3 separate regions of the Homo sapiens genome follow, and regions 1 and 2 are each linked to region 3. The links are contacts of gene promoters, found by promoter capture Hi-C in blood cells and fetal thymus (Javierre and others, 2016). All regions are on one chromosome and are shown on one strand. The core of a region is centred on a gene start or on the middle of the fragment in contact, and the rest is flanking DNA. Distances in the headings are between cores, read along the strand shown.

Region 1 (2,977 bases), core at 182-2,681, 510 kb after region 3:
CAGTTTAACTACCCAGAGAAGGTCTGTGGTACATAGATACACTAACCTTGTAAGAGTACAAGAAGAGTAACCTAATAGCCTGGGCCCAGGAGGTAGGTGTGGAGGGAACCAGGAAACTACAGATATAGGCCACACTTAGCTTAGGGACTGGCGTGTCTGATTAGGCCTTGGTGTCACAATTGTATGGCCCACTATCAGTATTGATATTCTTAAATTTGACTTTGAGTCATTTAGAAAGGGATAGGGGAGCAGTAAATGTAAGGTCCATTTTATAGAGATTTTTATCAAAAACAATGAAAAATAAAAGTTTTAGAGCTTTCAAAAACAAACCCCAGTTATCTGGAAAGCACAGCTGTCAGAAATGGTTTACTGACTGTGAATATGCATGCTTTTCTTCGGATTAACAATGATTCAATACCTTTGATTGAAAAGTATCTTATTCCTTTAAATTTGGATGTACAAGTCAGGCAACTCACTCAAGTCAAGGGCTTGCCTCAACATGATCACCTTATGTTTGCACAGTTTATTCTCTTTGAGTTAGTTAAATTTCAGAATAATATGACAATTTAAAAACAGTATTTTAGGCAGCAATCATACCTTTATCTCAAATGAAATTTCTAATCAGAATTGCTATCAAAGAGGAACATTAATTTCCATTCCCCTGCTGCCTGTCCCACCCATGCTCATAGAAGAAGTAATGACCAAGGAGCTAGTCAGAAAACAGTAGCAAGAAAACAAAACAAAAAGCTGGACAATTCACAGGCCAAAGAGGTAATCCTAAATATACAAAGATTGATTATATTGTGGGTCTTTAAAAAAAAAAAAACACTCACAAATAAATTGGTTAGCAAAAAAAGAAAGAGCCTTTATCTTAAAGAAAGCACCTATGAGAATGGAGAGAATATTGCATGATCAAAGCACAAAGGAAAAACTGTCTGACCGAGGTTTCATCAGGCTTCCTCTCTGTTCAGATCTTTTTCTGATCTGTGGTCCGGTTTGGCTGCAGGACCCCATTTGACCGTAGATTCTCTAGAGCTATGATTTTTTATTTGCTGGAAGAAGATTGTAGAATTAAAAATGAAGAGTTCCAAAGGACTCTGAATTTACCTCAAATAAATAGATGGACAAAACTAAGTTGAAAGCTTAGTTTTCAACTTGTTTTGAAAGTTGTTTTGAAAGCTTGGTTTGTATTTTCTCAGCTGGAAATCAGGCTAGGAAAAGAAATTATATAGACTCAGGTTTGTTTGTCTGTTTTAATTGCTTCTAAGAGAAAAGTGAGTAATAATAGGTATCATTTATGAAGACCTGCTATGTGCCAAGTATTCTGCACATATATTCATTATACCATGTAAACCATCCAGGAGCCTTGCAAGGTAGGTATTATCCCATTTTAAAGATGAGAAAACCTAGACTTAGAGAGTATAGTCAGTTGCCTGAGGTCAGGTAGCAACTGGCAAAGGAGGAATCAAGCCCAGATCTGTCAAATTCCAAACACCGTTTTCTTCCCAGTATGCCATCCCTCCCATCCTTAGTTCTTTAGGTTGCAGCCTGTATTTATTGAGCACTTTTCTATGTGCAAGACTGTATGGCGTGCTTTACCTGCTTCATTTCCAACCCTGAGCTTAAAGTTTTTTCCAGTCTTGGGAATGGGAAAAGAGGAGCACAGAGGTCAGTTCACCTGCCAAAGCTTGCCCACCTCGAGTACACATGCCTTCCTCACTCAACACTCGGCTTCACCCAGATAAGCTGTTCCCCACCCATCTTGCAGACTGAGTGGCTGATTTTTTAACATTTCTGGGGAAAATATCCCCATTCCACACATTCTAGTGGGTCAGACATTGTCCTATAATTGTAATATCCCTGCACGGTATAAGTCCAGCATGGAAACTGCTTGGAAAGGATAATGTAGAAATAAAAATAGGTTAATGAAGGTTTCTGCATGGGGGAATGACATGGTGACCAGTGCTTCTAACCAAGTCTTATGAGGAAACATGTAATCCTTCTGCCAGATATTTGATTTAAACTGTGTCCTGTGTCAGCCTTACATCCAATCCCAAACTTCAGGCCTGACTCTCTGGATTTTTCACATAGTAAGTCCATTATCAAGCCTTCCACTCAGCATCTCCCTTGAACATAAGAGATGTGCAAATAAGTCTTTTTTTTTTTTAATGGAAACGGGATCTTGCTATGTTGCCCAGGCTTATCTCAAACTCCTGGGCTCAAGCGATCCTCCCGCCTAGGCTCCCAAAGTGCTAGGATTACAGGCATGAGCCACCACACCGGCTGATAAGTCTTAAGAGATGTTTTGTAGAGAGGAATTGGTTCCTATACTGAGAAGTAAATAGTCACCCCCTTCTACTAACGAATAATAACTTTTTTTTTTTTTTTTTTGAGACAGAGTCTCATTCTGTCACCCAGGCTGGAGTGCAGTGGTACAATCTCGGCTCACTGCAACCTCTACCTCCTGGGTTCAAGCAATTCTCCTGCCTCAGCGTCCTGAGTAGCTGGGATTACAGGCAGGCACCACCACGCCCAGCTAATTTTTGTATTTTTATTAGAAACAGGGTTTCACCATGTTGGCCAGGGTGGTCTCGAACTCCTGACCTCGTGATCCACCCATCTCGGCCTCCCAAAGTGTTGGGATTACAGGCGTGAGCCACCGCGCCTGGCCTTATTTTTGATTTGTACATACTTTCCAAAGCATTCTCCATTCTAGAGGATTGTACCATGCTGGGGGCATTATAGGAAAGTGTCTGCCACACTGGAATGAGTGGTGTGAGCTTTTTTCCCTAGAAATGTTCAAGGGTAATGCTCATAGAAAGACGTTCACAGTCCTTCACTATGTGTTCAGAGCACTCCACAGTTTGCAATCTTTATCCAGAGCCTCTCTGCTCCAGCTTCTGTCCTCCAGCCTGTATTCCGTCTACCCAGATCCCCCGCATTCCCTCGCTGGGCCTCTACGGTGACTGCTTAATAC
Region 2 (3,043 bases), core at 523-3,022, 530 kb after region 3:
TCCCATCCACTCTACTTTGCCAGCAGCTCTCTCCCCTCCCAGTCTCCTTTGACTCTAATCACATACTGCTTTGGAATCTCTTTGGTATTTTCTTTTAGTTCTTCACATCTTCATATATATTTTGTTTCCTTAACCAAACCATGAGTACTTTGAAGGAAATGGCTTTGCATATATATCTTTTTTTAAAATTACAGTATAATTTATATACAATGGAGTGGACAGGTTTTAAGTATATCTTTTGACAAGTTTTGACGAAGTTACCTTATAGCCTCTTTCCAAATAGTCTCTTTACTCTCAAGGCAACTATTGTTCTGTATCACCCTGTCTTAGTTTTTTCTTTTAGATACTTCTAAATGAAATAATACAGATCATACTCTTTTGTGTCTGACACAATGAAATTTATCTTCATTTCATTCAACATAATTGTTTAAGATTTAGCTGTTATGGTGGCCGGGAGCAGTCATCACGTCTGTTCTCCCAGCATTTTGGGGGACTGAAGCGGGCGGATCACCTGAGGTAGGAAGTTCGAGAACAGTCTGGCCAACATGGGAAAACCCCATCTCTACTAAAAATACAAAAATTAGCAGGGCATGCTGGCACAAGCCTATAATCCCAGCTACTCCGGAGGCTGAGGCAGGAGAATCTGTTGAACCCAGGAGGCGGAGGTTGCAGTGAGCCAAGATCACACCACTGCACTCCAGCCTGGGTGACAGAGCGAGACTCCATCTCAAAAAAAAAAAAAAAATGTATCTGTTATGGCATTTCTTTTTTACTGCTGAGTAATATTCTATTATATGAATATAATGTATTAATCCATTCACCCATGTGTAGATACTTGTGTTGTTTCCAGGTTGAGGATTTTATTAATAGAGCTGCTATGACCAAGCCTTTTTGTAGACATGTGTTTTCCTTTCTTCAGGTAAATACTTGGGAGTGGGAGTACATATGTGATTAACTTTATGAGAAGGTGACAAGCTTTTTTAAAGTGGTATCGGTTTACCCTCCCATCAGCAATATGCCAGGGTTCCAGTTGCTTCACATTCTCACCAACACATCCTATTGTCAGTCTTTTTAAATTGTACCATTCTAGAGAGGATAAAGTAAGATCTCATGTTTTTAATTTACATTTCCTGGTGATAAATGATGTTGAGCATCTTGGCATGTGCTTATTGGTTTATCTCTTTCATGAAATGTCTGTTCAAATCTTGCCTATTTTTAATTTGGTTGTTAGTCTTTTTATTAATGAGTTGTATATATGAGTTTCTTTATATATTTGTCAGATATATTTTTTGTGAGTATCGTCTTTCAATCTGTGGCTTGCCATTTCATTTTCTTTTTCCTTTTTTTAATAGAGACAATATTTCGCTATGTTGCCCAGGCTGGTCTTGAACCCTTGGGCTCAAGTGATCCTTGATCCTCCCGCCGCAGCCTCCCAAAATCTTGGGATTACAGGTGTGAGCCACTATTCCTGCCCTTTTCATTTCTTAAGAGTGTCTTTTGATGAGCAGAAAATCTTCATTTTTTAAATGAAATCTGTTTTTTACGTTAATGCTCTTTGTATACTCAAAATTATTAGCCTACTAGAAGGTCATGAAGAAATTATCCTATGTTTTCTTCTAGAAGCTTTTGTTTTGATACATAGGCCTATGATCCATCTCAAATTAATTTTTGTATATGATATGAGGTAGATGCCAAGGTTAATTTTTTGTTCATATGTATCCAGATATTACAACACCATTTGTTGAAAATACTTTTCTTTCCCTGTTGAATTACCTTTACATCTTTGTCAAAAGTCAATTAACCACATGTGAGTGGATCTATTTCTGGATACTCTATTCTGTTCCATTGATAGGTTTGTATACCAATATTTCTTGAAATCAGGAAAGGTATACCAATATTTCTTGAAATCAGGAAAGGTATCCAAGCTTGTTCTTTTTAAAGATTGTTTTGGCTATTCTAGGTCCTTTGCATTTTTATATATCTTTTAGAATCAGCTTGCCAATTCCCACCTCTCCCCACTCCAACGCCCCCCCCACCAAAAGCCTGCTGATCAACAAGGGAAGAATTGACATTTTTACAATACTGAATCTTTTATAATACTGAATCAATGAACATGGTTTTATTTAGGTCTTTAGTTTCTCAGAAATTTTTAAAATATTTCAATGTAGAAATCTTGAAATATTTTTAAATGTTTTTCTTTTTCTTTTTTTTGAGACAGAGTCTTGCTCTGTTGCCCAGGCTAGAGTACCGTGGCGCAATCTTGGCTTACTGCAAACTCTGCCTCCCAGATTCAAAAGATTCTTGTGCCTCAGCCTCCTGAGTACCCAGGACTACAGACGTGTGCCACCACACCCAGCTAATTTTTGTATTTTTATTTATTTTTTTGAGACAAAGTTTTGCTTTTATCACCCAGGCTGGAGTGCAATGGCATGATCTTGGCTCACCGCAACCTCCACCTCCCAGGTTCAAGTGATTGTCCTGTCTCAGCCTTCCTAGTAGCTGGGATTACAGGCGCCCGCCACTATGCCCGGCCAATTTTTGTGTTTTTAGTACAGACAGGGTTTTGGCATGTTGGCCAGTCTGGTTTCAAACTCCTGACTTCAGGTGATCCACCCGCCTCGGCCTCCCAAAGTGCTGGCATTACAGGCATGAGCCACTGCATTCCACCTGTTTTTGCTTTTATTGTAAATTATATAAAAATATAAATATAAAATATTTATAAATATATAAAAATATAAACAAAATTTTTAAAAATTTATTTTCTAGTTTGTTGCTGGTATACAGGAATACAAATGATTTTTCTATACTGACATGGCATCCTGTGACATTGCTAAATTCACTTATTACTACTAAAATCTAATAGATTTTTTAAATAGATTTCTTATAATTTCTTTTTTCTTTTTTTTGGAGATGGAGTCTCACTCTGTCACCCAGGCTGGAATGCAGTGGCATTATCTTGGCTCACTGCAACCTCACCTCCCAGGTTCTAGCAATTCTCCTGCTTCAGCCTCTTAAGTAGCTGGGACTACAGGCACACGCTGCC
Region 3 (3,146 bases), core at 18-2,517:
CTGGAGTCCGGTTATGGGAAGATAAATATCAAGAATGATTAGAAGGAAAAAAAGTATTATAGGTACTAAGGAGAAGGACGGTCTTAATTTAAAAAATTGAATTGTATTGTATGGAGAGCTGATTTTTTTCCTCCTCATCTTCTTTGTGATGGCACAGAGAGCTGAATTTTCTTTAAAACAGTTTTATTACTTTTTTTTTTTTTTTTTTTTGAGACGGAGTCTCACTTTGTCGCCCAGGCTGGAGTGCAGTGGCGCTATCTCGGCTCACTGCAACCTCCGCCTCCCGGGTTCAGCTAATTTTTGTATTTTTAGTACAGGCGGGATTCCGCGACGTTGGCCAGGCTGGTCTCAAACTCGTGACCTCAAGTGATCTGCCTGCCTCAGCCTCCCAAAGGGCTGGGATTACAGGCGTGAGCCATGCGATTAAATCTTATTTCACATCTGTAAGACTTCATATGTAGATACAAATCACGGATTAGGAAAAAAATCCAAAAGTCCTGATTATTAGTTGCGAAATGAGGTTACTGACGAGGTCCTTGGTGTTAGAGGAGCCCAGGTTCCTTACAGAGCCATGAAAAATTAATGATTGCAAACTGGTAGGTCCCAATGTCTACTGGGAAAGGCATGAGTCTTTGGAGTCAGATAAAATCTAGGTTTAAATTCTTACTCTGCCACCTGGTAGTTCTGTGATATTAGGCACGTGATGTGAATGCTCTCAATCTGTTATTTGGCTTCTATGTCAGGAACTGTGCTAGGTGTTTGGATACAGAAGTTTGAGATGCAAAGGGTCCTGCCCTCCTAGAGATTGGGATAACTAAGGAAAGGTGGGGTTCTTAATGCCGAAGGGACTCAGAAGAGTGAGAGTAAGGCTTAACCAGGCGGAGAGGGAGTTGGGTCGGGGGAGGCAACATTTTAAGAAAATATGCGAGGGGCTGATACGCTGGAGCGGCCGAAGTACAATACACAGTTGTTCTTGTGGGTCTAATGCAGGTGGTTGCGATTATTTCGTGAAACAAATATGGAAAGCACCTAACGCTGAAAGCACTTGACCCAGAAATAGGAGTCAGGGCCGGGGCGCGAACCCTGAGCTGTAAATCCCTTTCCAGAATGATGAGGATTCCAACCTCCAGCACGACAAAAGCAAAACACACTCGCTCTGAGAAACCGAGGAACGAGCCAGACGACTGGAGGCAGGTTCCAGGCGGGGGGCGTGGCCTCGGGCGACTGCCGGATGTCCTCTTCCAGAACCGGGCCGTGCCCCGGAAGCAGTTGTTGTTGGTTGGGGGCCTTTTGGCCGGTGACGGAGACTGCCCAGGTGTGGTCACCATGTTCCTCTCCGCGGTCTTCTGTAAGTGGGGCTGGAGACGCCGGTAGGGGTTACGGCGAGGGTTAGGGGGCCGTGACAGGCAGGGCCCCGGAATGATGCGGGGAAGGATGTGCGAACAGGACGGGAAGCTGCAGCTGCGTACTTTTCCAGGCCTTCAGGACCACAGCGTCCGGCATGCCCCGCGGCGCGCCTCCCTGCGCGGACCTGTGGGTGCCTGAGAAGGGGTCTGCGGTGTCTGGATTCAATTGCCGTCCTCACGGACCGTTGAGTCTGGCTGTGGGGCGTTTTTCTCCAGCCCGTGTTAGGAGAATCTTTGTCCGAAGGACCTCAGAATTTGCAGCCCACCTATTTCGAACTCTAAAAATAAGGAAACCGCTCCCGAGAGGGGCAATGAATTGCCTGAGTAATGCGGCAGGGCAGTTAAAGAAGTCCTCGGGCTCCCGAGTCAGTGCTCTTCTTTACCCTTGGCTGACTTCCCAGTTAGATTTAGTATCTGGTTTTCACCACATGTGATGGTTGTTGTAATTTGCAAAGGTTAAACTTGTCAAACAAGAAGCTTGCTGCAGCGCGAATACTTGCACCTTAGAAGAGGGAAAAAATGGAGCAGGTATTACTTTAGAAAGATTTAAAAGGTAGCCAGTCCAACAGTCATGAAATTATGCAAAATATTAAATCTAGAATTGTGTTGGTCTGATTGGATCTTTTAACCTTCCTTCTATAAAATCCTAAGGGGATCCCTAATAGATAGGGAATAGTTACTTGAGTGACACCTCATGGCATATTTCATAAGTTAAATATTTTTGGTTATTACTGATATTTATATGAACTTTGCATAAGAAAGAGAATACATTTATATTTTTATTTTCTTTTCCAACCCTTCCTGTCTACAAAAAAGTTGCCAAGAGCAAGTCAAAGTAAGTAAAGATTTTTCCTTTTTTAAACGTCACTTGTTTATGTTGGATTTGTTAGTCTAGCTGCTCCCAGTACATCCTTATATGAAATTAAGCATTGGGCCTTGATTTCCTAAGAGTTGGTTTGTGGATTACTTAGTTGATTATTTTTTCTTTATGAACTCTTTCAAAAATATTTTCCCTCCTGCTGAACTGAGCTACTTCTGTGAGCATTGAAATACTTGAAGGAACCTTTGCTGCTTTTCTAGTCCCAGGATTTGTGAGCTCACTGTCTGTTTCTAAACAAACCATTGGGCTGTGCTGTATTTGGACTACCACCATATTTCCATTTCCTCAAATCGAGGACCAGGGGCCATGTGTCTGGAGCTCACTACGGGAATCCAGAAGAACAAACTCTGCTTTGATTAAATCATAGTCTGTTTTAATGAGTTTTGTAATCCTTTGCATTCATGGTATAAGCATTTCAAAAATAGCCAAGATTAAAGATTCCATGCTGTACCAGAGAGACTAGAACTACCAAACTTGTATTTCAAAATAAATGTTGTAGACAATAACAGAAGATTTTGTGGTAAAAATAGGGAGGTTCTAAAGCAGCTTTTCCTTGCAACTCAAGACATTGAAAATCCTTAAAGCTAGTCTTTTGGATTAACGTTAATGAAAAACATGTATGTTAGCGCTTTCCCTCCCAGTATCTTTCAGTGATTCACGTAGCTTTCGCCACAGTCCAGTTATTTATGTCAAAATTCCCTGCCCCAGGGATCTATAGGAATCTCTTGCCTTTGGTTTCTGTAGAGGTATATTCTGACTCTCGTTCTTTCTACCCTTGTGACATATTTCATATATGTCTTGCCTGATTGACCTCATGTACCAACTCACCTTCCATACAGTACTGTTAGCTCCTAGAGGAC

What was found. Contacts are between HindIII fragments. The CHiCAGO score rates a contact against its expected background, and 5 or more counts as called.
Region 1: a contact is called between a fragment that was not itself captured here and the fragment with the promoter of MRPL33 in region 3, in 2 of 17 cell types (endothelial precursors and M1 macrophages). The highest score is 8.1, in endothelial precursors.
Region 2: a fragment that was not itself captured here is called in contact with the fragment with the promoter of MRPL33 in region 3 in 1 of 17 cell types (megakaryocytes); the score reaches 5.1 in megakaryocytes.

Annotation. Positions count from the first base shown.
Region 1 is chr2:28,283,583-28,286,559 of GRCh38, forward strand. All of the region lies in intron 10 of BABAM2 (BRISC and BRCA1 A complex member 2), which reads left to right. Among named protein-coding and RNA genes, the nearest start is that of BABAM2-AS2, 25 kb to the right of the region's middle. The HindIII fragment of the contact is 508 bases long and covers 1,178-1,685 here.
Region 2 is chr2:28,301,688-28,304,730 of GRCh38, forward strand. All of the region lies in intron 11 of BABAM2 (BRISC and BRCA1 A complex member 2), which reads left to right. Among named protein-coding and RNA genes, the nearest start is that of BABAM2-AS2, 7.2 kb to the right of the region's middle. The HindIII fragment of the contact is 302 bases long and covers 1,622-1,923 here.
Region 3 is chr2:27,770,452-27,773,597 of GRCh38, forward strand. It overlaps MRPL33 (mitochondrial ribosomal protein L33), which reads left to right and starts at 1,268. Exons shown (of 4, transcript NM_004891.4): 1 at 1,268-1,348; 2 at 2,223-2,241. The coding sequence starts at 1,327. RefSeq lists enhancers at 910-1,029, 1,263-2,079, 1,320-1,449. The HindIII fragment of the contact is 2,472 bases long and covers 1-1,881 here.